3 separate regions of the Homo sapiens genome follow, and regions 1 and 2 are each linked to region 3. Evidence: promoter capture Hi-C in 16 types of primary human blood cells and fetal thymus (Javierre and others, 2016). All regions are on one chromosome and are shown on one strand. The core of a region is centred on a gene start or on the middle of the fragment in contact, and the rest is flanking DNA. Distances in the headings are between cores, read along the strand shown. Region 1 overlaps NDFIP2 (Nedd4 family interacting protein 2). Region 2 overlaps RBM26 (RNA binding motif protein 26). Region 3 holds the start of MYCBP2 (MYC binding protein 2).

Region 1 (2,822 bases), core at 24-2,523, 2.2 Mb after region 3:
ATACTCCCTGTGAGAGTGTCAAAAACAGCTTATTCAAATATGGTAGAATCTTCATTCTGTTAGTGTGATTGCCTCATTGAGGTCATTCTTGACTACCTTATTTTAAATCACTATATCCCATTCACAGTACTCCTTATCGCTGTTTCCTGTTTGTTTTTATCCAGAGTACTTATCATCTTCTGGTATTCCAAATATTTTGCTTATTTATTTCCTACCTCCCTTCTTTCTCCCTGAATTTAAGCCTCATGGTGGTAGAGAGATTTTTGTCTGTTTTGCTCACTACTGTATATATCTTTCCATACCTGCCATATGGTAGACTTTCAGTATTTGATAAAGATGAATGAATGGTGCTAGTTCAAGGCCAATTTTATAGACATAAAACCTTGCCTATGTTATTTTATTCCTTTTTATATTTATTCTGTTTCTGCTACTGAGACCTGGGCTCTTTAAGGTGGGGGTGATGGTGGTGGTTGTTTCTTTGCATTCTCTTCCAGCTTGAAATATATTGCTTAGTCTTCCTCTGTCTCTCTCTCTGAATGGTGTCCTTTAGAGTTGTTCAATAAGTAGCCCATGAAGCCATATGCAGTGGCCCTGCTTATCACCTTCATAAACTGCGGAGTTGTGAATACTGGTTTGATTTTCCTTATCTTTTTTATATTGATTACTTGGCAACTATTTTCTTCTTACTATTTTCTTAATATCTGACCTTCATTCTAAAACATTGCTCAATTGTATGTGTATTCGCAATATGTTATTTTAGGATTTTGTATGTATTCTATATATGTAGGCCTGACTTGAGTTTAATTAACTGTGGAATGGTATGGAATCTTCTACTGACGTTTAGTCAATGTAAATTTACTGACAAGATCACTGTAATTAAGGCTATGCAATTGTAAATCATCGTATGTCTCTGTTTTCGGGCCATGTTGTTATGGTTTCTTTCAGATGTTTGATCACTTAGCTGGAATTAGGGTGTGGGTAAAATTCTTGTTAAAGACGTGCCAAATGCAAGTTGGGAAATGCTGCAGTAGTCTAAGATTTACTGTCAGATTATTTCAGGGTTTTGACTTGCTTGCTTTTAAGATTTGTTTGAACATGTACAGTTTAATATTTTAAAAGTTCAGGAATGTGCTGTGGTTTAGTTCATCTATGATGTTTCTCCAGAATTACTCATAACATTATGTAAAGAAATTGTGCTATTTGGACAGAGGTTTTGAGAATAAGGGAGTGAACTGGATTTCATTTTGTAAAAGAATCTTCTAATGTGATGGTATTAACCCCTTTACTAATTTTGGGGGTCTTAGGACATATAGCCTTTTGGATATTGGACTGAGGAAATCCAGTAGTGACACCTTTTTTTTTTTTTTTTTCCTTTCTTTATAAGTGTTCAAAGTGACAGCTTTTGTAGAACATTTGTTCTCCTCACCTCGGGAGAGCTTTCATCTATATCAGATGACTTTTTGTGTGATTTCTGTCAAAAGGGAAGAGTCTTGAAATAACACTTGAGAGTTTTGTTTTTTTTGAGGCAGAGTCTCGCTGTGTCACCCAGGCTGGAGTGCAGTCTGGTGGATCACAGCACTGCAGCCCTAACCTTCTGAGTTCAAGCGGTCTTCCCCCTCAGCCTCCCAAGTAGTTGAGACTACAGGCATGCATCACCACGCTTGGCTGAATTTTTTCTTTTTTAGAGATAGAGTCTTACTATGTTGCCCAGTCTGTTCTCAAATCATTTTTCTGCCTTGGCTTCCCAAAGTGCTGGGATTACTGACATGAGCCACTGTTCCTGGCCACACTTAAGGCCCTTTTAAGTATTTGTTTTTAACCTTTAGAGAACAACAGGAGCACCTGCATACCTCATCCCTGCCTACGTTGTTACTGCATTGCATACTTTGGCCATGTTTTAAACTATAATGCTTTTGTTTCTCTATCACCACCCCAAATCATGCTATCTCTTGCTTTGTAGCTTTTAAATATATCTTTCCCATTTTTTCTTTTCTCCCTCCTTCTTCCAGGACTAATTTCAATTGTGTATTCAGATCTATATTTAGATGTTATTTTCTTCAAAAAACCTTTCCTTCCCTTTTACCTCCCCATCTCCATTTCCTGCTCTTTACTTTCAAGTTCTGCGTGTTCTTTTAACTGTGTGCACTTATCCTTGTTATAGCCCTTATTTCATGGTGTGTATTTCCCCACTAGATTGTAAACTCAGTGGGAAGCAGGGCTTAGATCTGTCTTGTTTATAATAGTTTATGTCATTGTTCTGGTCCTGTTATAGGTGCAAAATAAATACTTATTAAAGAAATAAATGAATGTCTTTTCTGAATGATTCCAAGTGTGTGCATGGCGATACTGGTATATTTTATTATGTTTATAAAGTGATATGTAGTTTTACAGAATTCTGTGCTATAAAAGTAATAATGTTTTGCACAGCCTATGCACTGTTGATATTCTTGATGTTCATAATTAGGGTATATCCTTTGCTTTTATAATAGTGCTGATGAATCAGTTTAGATGAGTTCTGGTATTTTTGAATAATTCCTCTTGTAACCAGTGGCTTGCATTTGCAAGATAGTAACCATGGTTAGGTTATTTGGTCTACCCATGGAAAAGAGAAAAGGAAATTGTTTCCAGATATTGTGGAAATAGGGGAGTCCTTAATGATCATTTTCTTCAATCTTCTCATTTTACAGAAGACTATCCGAGGGAGGTTCTGTTCAAGGTTATGCAGGAAAGCTTAGAGGACAGATTTTATTACCGTAAACGTAGCAACAGAGTTAAAATACATCAAGGATCCTGGGAAATAAAACCTTTATGATAGCTAAGTT
Region 2 (2,906 bases), core at 336-2,835, 2.1 Mb after region 3:
AAAACCTAGTTCTATCATCCTGTTGGATAAATTTGGCTGAGTCGATTAAGCCTTTAACCTTTTTCTCATATTTCTTTAAAAGGTCTGGCTAATGCTGTGTGGTTATATATGTTAGAGATTCACTTCTAAGTCTTTCTCTAACATTGCTACCAAAATTTTCTGATACGGTTACCACAGTCATGCCAAAATTTATCTTTAAAAATGAGAAATTATTATGGACACTTTTCCGGTCATGAATCTTAAGACTAAGCAAACTAAGCTTCAGTTTTTTCATCTAACAGCTGACTTGCCAAACTAGAAATAATTACAAATAAATATAATTACAAATAAGACACACTTTATTAACCTGCCAAGCACCCTAACAATCGTTAAGGGATTACTAAATAATGAACTATGATAAAAAAAAATGCCTATAATCACCCCTAAAAATATACTTTAGTTAAATTCTGGTTGCTATATTTTAAGTCCTATATTACCTTTCAAACCTACTTTGTCCCAAGCCAAATTGTTAGCCTTTCCATGAAGCAGTCTGGTATTGAAGAAAAGCACTGAACTGTACTCCAAAAAACAATTTTCAGATTTCCAGTCTGGTGTTATTTCTGCTTTATTCACTAGTTATATAATCCTGCGTTAGCATTTTATTTCTCTAGGCTTTAGTTTACTCATTTAAAAAAAAAAAAAAGGCACTGAACCATACGATCTGAAAAAGTGGGTCATTTTTGTGAAAAAATATTTGGCTTTCACCACCTTGCGCTCTTTCTCCCTTCCCATTCCAGTAACTTTTAGTTAACTGAATTTCAAAATAATTTAGTACATAGCATTAGAATCTTCAAGAGAATTTTTTTTCTTTATGTCTTTCTAAAGAGTCACAGAATCCCATTTCCTCAGCACTCATGACCAAATTTTGAGCCCTTAGAAGGCATAAATAAATTCTACTTAATAGAAACATTTTGTGTATTTCTCCTAAATTGCCAGACCTATATAATTTCTGTACATTGTTTCTACCACTGTTACATAGCAACTACTGGTATGTTTGACTGTTTCTCCCATTGGTATTACAGATAACTATGCCTGCCTTTTCCCTAGAACAAATCACAATGTATTGAGAAGGAGCTTCTAATTACCAACATTATAGCAATCTAAATTCAGGCATTTCACAACTCACTCTTAAACTAGACTAAGAAATAGCTAACTAGTCTTCCTTTGTCTTCAAAACGTTTTATCTAATCAAACCTCTACATGCCATAAACTGGAATGCAGTGGCGATCTCAGCTGACTGCAACCTCCGCCTCCCGGGTTCAAGCAATTCTCCTGCCTCAGCCTCCCCAGTAGCTGGGATTACAGGCATGTACCACCACGTCTGGCTAATTTTTGTATTTTAAGTAGAGATGGGGTTTCACCATGGTGGCCAGGCTGGTCTCGAACTTCTGACCTCAGGTGATCCACCCACTTGGGCCTCCCAAAGTGCTGGGACTATAGGCGTGAGCCACCTCGCCCAGCAAGCAACATTCTTAAAAAGAGACTGGATCAAGTAACTCCTGTTTTAACCTTCCCCACATCTCATAATATAGCTCCAAAATTGTCCAATCACTTCAGTATAGCAATAAAACTTTCTCTACATCTGAAACCCACAGAGGCTAGGTGGATTCAAGAGCCTTTTCCTAATCACAATGTATACTCACGATTCCTCCAAACTTCATGTATTCTCACAGAACTTAACTGTTCCTCCAATTTGGCTGTTTAATGTCATCACAGGCATCCAAACTTAACATGATTCAATTTAGGTAAGTGCATTAACAACTTTAGAGACTGGTAACTGCAAGTTTATAAAGCAGTTTTCAAAAATAAGTTCTACCTATTTCAGTCTGCTTGCTACTATAAAAAATTAAACTTTTTAAAAAGGTAAGATAAGCACTTGAGATCATTAAAGAAAGTAATAGTAACAAATAAGAAACGTCACAATGACAATTTCTTACAAAATATGTCCAAAAAAGATCACAAGTTACAGGCCTCAAAGTACCTGTTATTGCATTTATAACTATTACAAGGAGCAACAAATAAACGACCGGCTGAAGTATATATTAATGCTATGTGGAATCTATAATCATTCAAACACTTTTCATTTATAAGTGACTTCATTTAAGATTTTATAAATTTTTTTATCAACTTTTAAATTGCCTGTAAAATGGAAAATAAATAATTGCAGAATGTATGGAGCAGAGATATACAGAACTCAAAAGTAGGCTAGAATTTACACTGACACACTATCTCCCGTAACTTCTTTTAAAATGGCTCTTTGAAACAAAAAACAAAATGAGGAACTACTTATAATGCAATACATAACATCATAAAACAAGTTCCTCTGAAGTACTAGATTTAAACCAAGAAAGTATACTTAATACTAAGAAAGCCTCCAACAGCAGCATTAGCTGACTTCTAGAAAATAACTTCTACTAATGAGAATAAAGCAAACATACACATAGAGGAAGATGTTCATTGCAGAGTTATTTAAAAAGTCAAAAACAGTGTACTAGTTGCGTTGTTAAAGAAAAAAAGAAACGGGAAAAAAAATAGTTATTTGGAAAGCCAAAGAAAAAAGCAAACAACCTAAATGACAAATAAGAACAGAATGGTTACATAAACTATAGTCTCTCATCCATGTACTAACCAAGCCTAATCCTGCTTGCCTTCCAAGTTAGATGAGATCAGGGGTGTTCAGAGTGGTATGGCCGTAGATGATTTGGTCATGCAAAAACACTGGATTTCAGCCATTGTAACGGCATAAAAACTACATATTAACAGTAAAAGTTCAAGGATGGGAAACGTAAAGAGGATTTTGCTTTTCAAGTCAAAGTCTTTTGGTAAGTTTTCCTTGACTACATACAGGAAGTACTTAAATAATTCAA
Region 3 (2,933 bases), core at 264-2,763:
AATCTACGCGCTATTCAGATTTTCTAGCTAGTGGCAGTTGAACGCTGTACCAGCTGTCATATTCTGAAGTTCTGCAGTTTTCCCCTTTTCCCTACAAAACCCTCTCTACTCTAAAGCCTGTAAGTAACAGAGGAAATCGAACAGAGGATGAAGAGAAATGGCCGATGGGACATCAGATCACAAGAGTAACTGCAACCTCATTTCTAGAAGACCAAAAGGCCCGGTTATCAAAGTACAGCTCTAAAAATCTCTATCAGACACCTTTCGCATCCACACAGATCTCCATCTGCGTCCCTTATTCATAAATCTTTTTAAAGCAAACCTCACGCCTATCCCTCGGGCCTGCTTATCCAAAACTCAACCAATCTATACCATGACTCCTCTTGGTGAAAGGCAGATTGAAGGGAGGTGGAAAGGGCTGGAAGGAATGTCATGGGAGAGGCGGCACGTGCAAATAACATTGCGGCAGAGACACTGAAAACGCCACTTCCCTTGCCACTGTTGCAATTCTCTTCGTGTATCATCCTCTTACCCTCTCTACCCATGCCACCTCCTACCTCAACGATACACACACGTGTCACAGCCGACCAGCACCATCGCCTTTTCCAGCATCACAGGTTCCCCTACCACCCCTCACTATCCCCCCACATAGGCAGGCAGACACACACACACACACACACACACACACACACACACACACACACGAGAAACTGCAGCCACCGCACCCTCCTATCTCGATAAGTGCTCCTGCCAACAGACATCCAGAGCGGACTGAAAGCTCAATAAATGCGCAGGTACACACACGCAAGCACACACACACGCGGGTGCACGCGCGGCATGGGGCGCAAGGAAGGGCGGCATGGGGCGCAAGGAAGGGCACCCTGGGGACGCACCTGGAGGCTGGGTGTCCAGCGCTGCCGCCCCCCTGGTCCCTGTCATTGAGCGCAGCGGTATAAATCCTCCGGTAGCGGTCGGCCAGGGCCCGGCCTGACAGCAGCAGCTGGTAGTGACCCCGGGAGTCCGCGGCGGGTAGCCCCAGCCCCAGCCCCGCAGCAGCCACGGAGCCGTCGGGAACCGGCATGAACAGCGCCCCCGGCGCCGGGGAGGAAGAGAAGGTGGCGGCTGGGTAGAATCCGTCCCCGCCGAGCCCCGAGGAGGCGGCGGCGGGGGAGGCAGTCGCTGCGCACATCATCATCCTCGCCGCCGCCGCCGCCGCCGCCGCCTCGTCCCCGCGGGCCGGGCGGGCAGACACGCGCGCGCACACACAGCCCTTTTCCAACGACGACGGCTCCGGCGGCGGCCTCTGGCTCCCGCAGCAGGGAGACTACAAAGACAGCGACCTCCTTCTCCTCCTCCTTCTTCTCCTCCTCCCCCCCGCGCCGCCCTCGCCGCTACTGGGGCCGCTCATCTAACCCCGCCACCCCGGGAATGTGAGGAGGAGGCGGTGCCGCCACTGCCGCCGCCACCACCGCTACCACCGCCACCACCGCCGGGGCTACCCGCAATGGGAAGCTGCCGGCCTCACAGAGCATGCGCCACTCCTCGCACATGCTCAGTAACTGCCGCCCCTTTTCCTCCCCACCCCCTCTCCGCCACCACTCCCTCCGCCTCGGGGCTTTGGGTTTGGGGCTGTTGGGTTGTGCGGAATCTGAAGTAGTCCACTTCTCCGGGTTTTACTGGCAGCTTGAAGAAGAGTAAGGAAAGTGCTGGGGAGGCTGTCAGCTACTGACGTTCGACTTCAGGTTCCCTCCAGGTGGAAGAACGAGGACCAGAAAGCAAGGGGGAACGTGCCCATCGCCAGAGGAGGAGTGGCACGCTCTTCTGCTACCTCTTCTCCAAGGCTCTGCTGCCAACAGGAAGATTTACTGTGAATTGTGCTGGTTAATTCAGAGTTTAAGGCAGAGAAAACCATCCCAATTAGAAGTGCCTTTAGCGATCTTATTTTATATGGTTTTTGTCATTAGGATTTACGCTTGTTTAACACAGCTTTTACTTACAAAGACAGGTAGTAATCTAGCACATTCTTTTTTGTGTGTGAAAGTATTTTGTGTGTGAAAGTATAACAGATAGGCTAGTATTCACAAGCCAGAGTCATTCCCAAATTCTTGTTCTCAACGGAGCAATAATATTTTTTAAATTACTCTTTTTTATTGACTCCTCACTCACCTAAGAGTGCACTTTTATCTCTTGGCAGTGGTCATTTAATGGTTTATTTTTTTCTGCCCAAACTTACATTTTTAAAGATAATTCTTGAATGCGATCTGAAACAATAATTGTGACGGAGACTGTATAGCGTCTGAAAATGTCAGATCCATCACATATCTTGTTGTTGTCTATAAAAAAGTAACATTTGCTCAGTCCTTTGTTCCAAGCTAACCTACGAACCCCATCTAAGTATATGCTCTAGAAATATACGTGCCAATGCACTTTGATTCCTACTACGTTTTATCCTTTGACTCTCAATTTGAAGAGTTTCCTAATTTACAGTCCTGACAAAATAATTTATAAGTTCTGTCATCCCAGTACTGTATCTTTCATCTATGTACTAGTTCTTATATCTGTGCCTCTTCTTCGGATGGCCTTCTCTTAAAAAAAAATAAAATAAATGTTAAAAAATCCTCCTTAGTGTTTGAGAAGTGCAAACAACAAGGAATAGGAAAGTAAATTAATTCTAGTTTTAGGGTGGAAGGTTGCTGAAAGCAATGCATTTTTTTCTGAAGCTTTAAATAATGGATGGATTTCATTTAGTTTTTTTAAAGATAATTAGCAGTGGGATAAACATAGGAACAAAGGACAAGACATGTGGAATCATAGTATTTTAGTACTGTAATTAGCCCTGTTAAGTTTTTGTATTTGTCTTGTTTCCTTACCTAAGTTCCTTCAGAGCTTGCTGCTTTTGTGTCTCCTTCAGCCACTTCAGGACTTTGCATGTA

The links. Contacts are between HindIII fragments. The CHiCAGO score rates a contact against its expected background, and 5 or more counts as called.
Region 1: a contact is called between a fragment that was not itself captured here and the fragment with the promoter of MYCBP2 in region 3, in 1 of 17 cell types (activated CD4 T cells). The highest score is 8.0, in activated CD4 T cells.
Region 2: a fragment that was not itself captured here is called in contact with the fragment with the promoter of MYCBP2 in region 3 in 6 of 17 cell types (naive CD8 T cells, total B cells, total CD8 T cells and 3 more); the score reaches 8.5 in naive CD8 T cells.

The regions. Positions count from the first base shown.
Region 1 is chr13:79,490,900-79,493,721 of GRCh38, forward strand. All of the region lies in intron 1 of NDFIP2 (Nedd4 family interacting protein 2), which reads left to right. Among named protein-coding and RNA genes, the nearest start is that of NDFIP2-AS1, 11 kb to the left of the region's middle. The HindIII fragment of the contact is 2,909 bases long and covers 1-2,728 here.
Region 2 is chr13:79,386,895-79,389,800 of GRCh38, forward strand. All of the region lies in intron 1 of RBM26 (RNA binding motif protein 26), which reads right to left. It also overlaps the pseudogene RNA5SP33. Among named protein-coding and RNA genes, the nearest start is that of RBM26, 18 kb to the right of the region's middle. The HindIII fragment of the contact is 2,656 bases long and covers 258-2,906 here.
Region 3 is chr13:77,325,581-77,328,513 of GRCh38, forward strand. MYCBP2 (MYC binding protein 2) reads right to left here and starts at 1,514. Exons shown (of 83, transcript NM_015057.5): 1 at 894-1,514. The coding sequence starts at 1,195. LOC127898562 reads right to left here and starts at 1,408. Exons shown (of 1, transcript NM_001414702.1): 1 at 1,325-1,408. The coding sequence starts at 1,408. The coding sequence ends at 1,325. LOC107984564 (a long non-coding RNA gene) reads left to right here and starts at 1,465. Exons shown (of 2, transcript XR_001749930.2): 1 at 1,465-1,555; 2 at 1,684-2,618. RefSeq lists silencers at 934-1,053, 1,094-1,473 and an enhancer at 1,664-1,993. The HindIII fragment of the contact is 13,146 bases long and covers 1-2,718 here.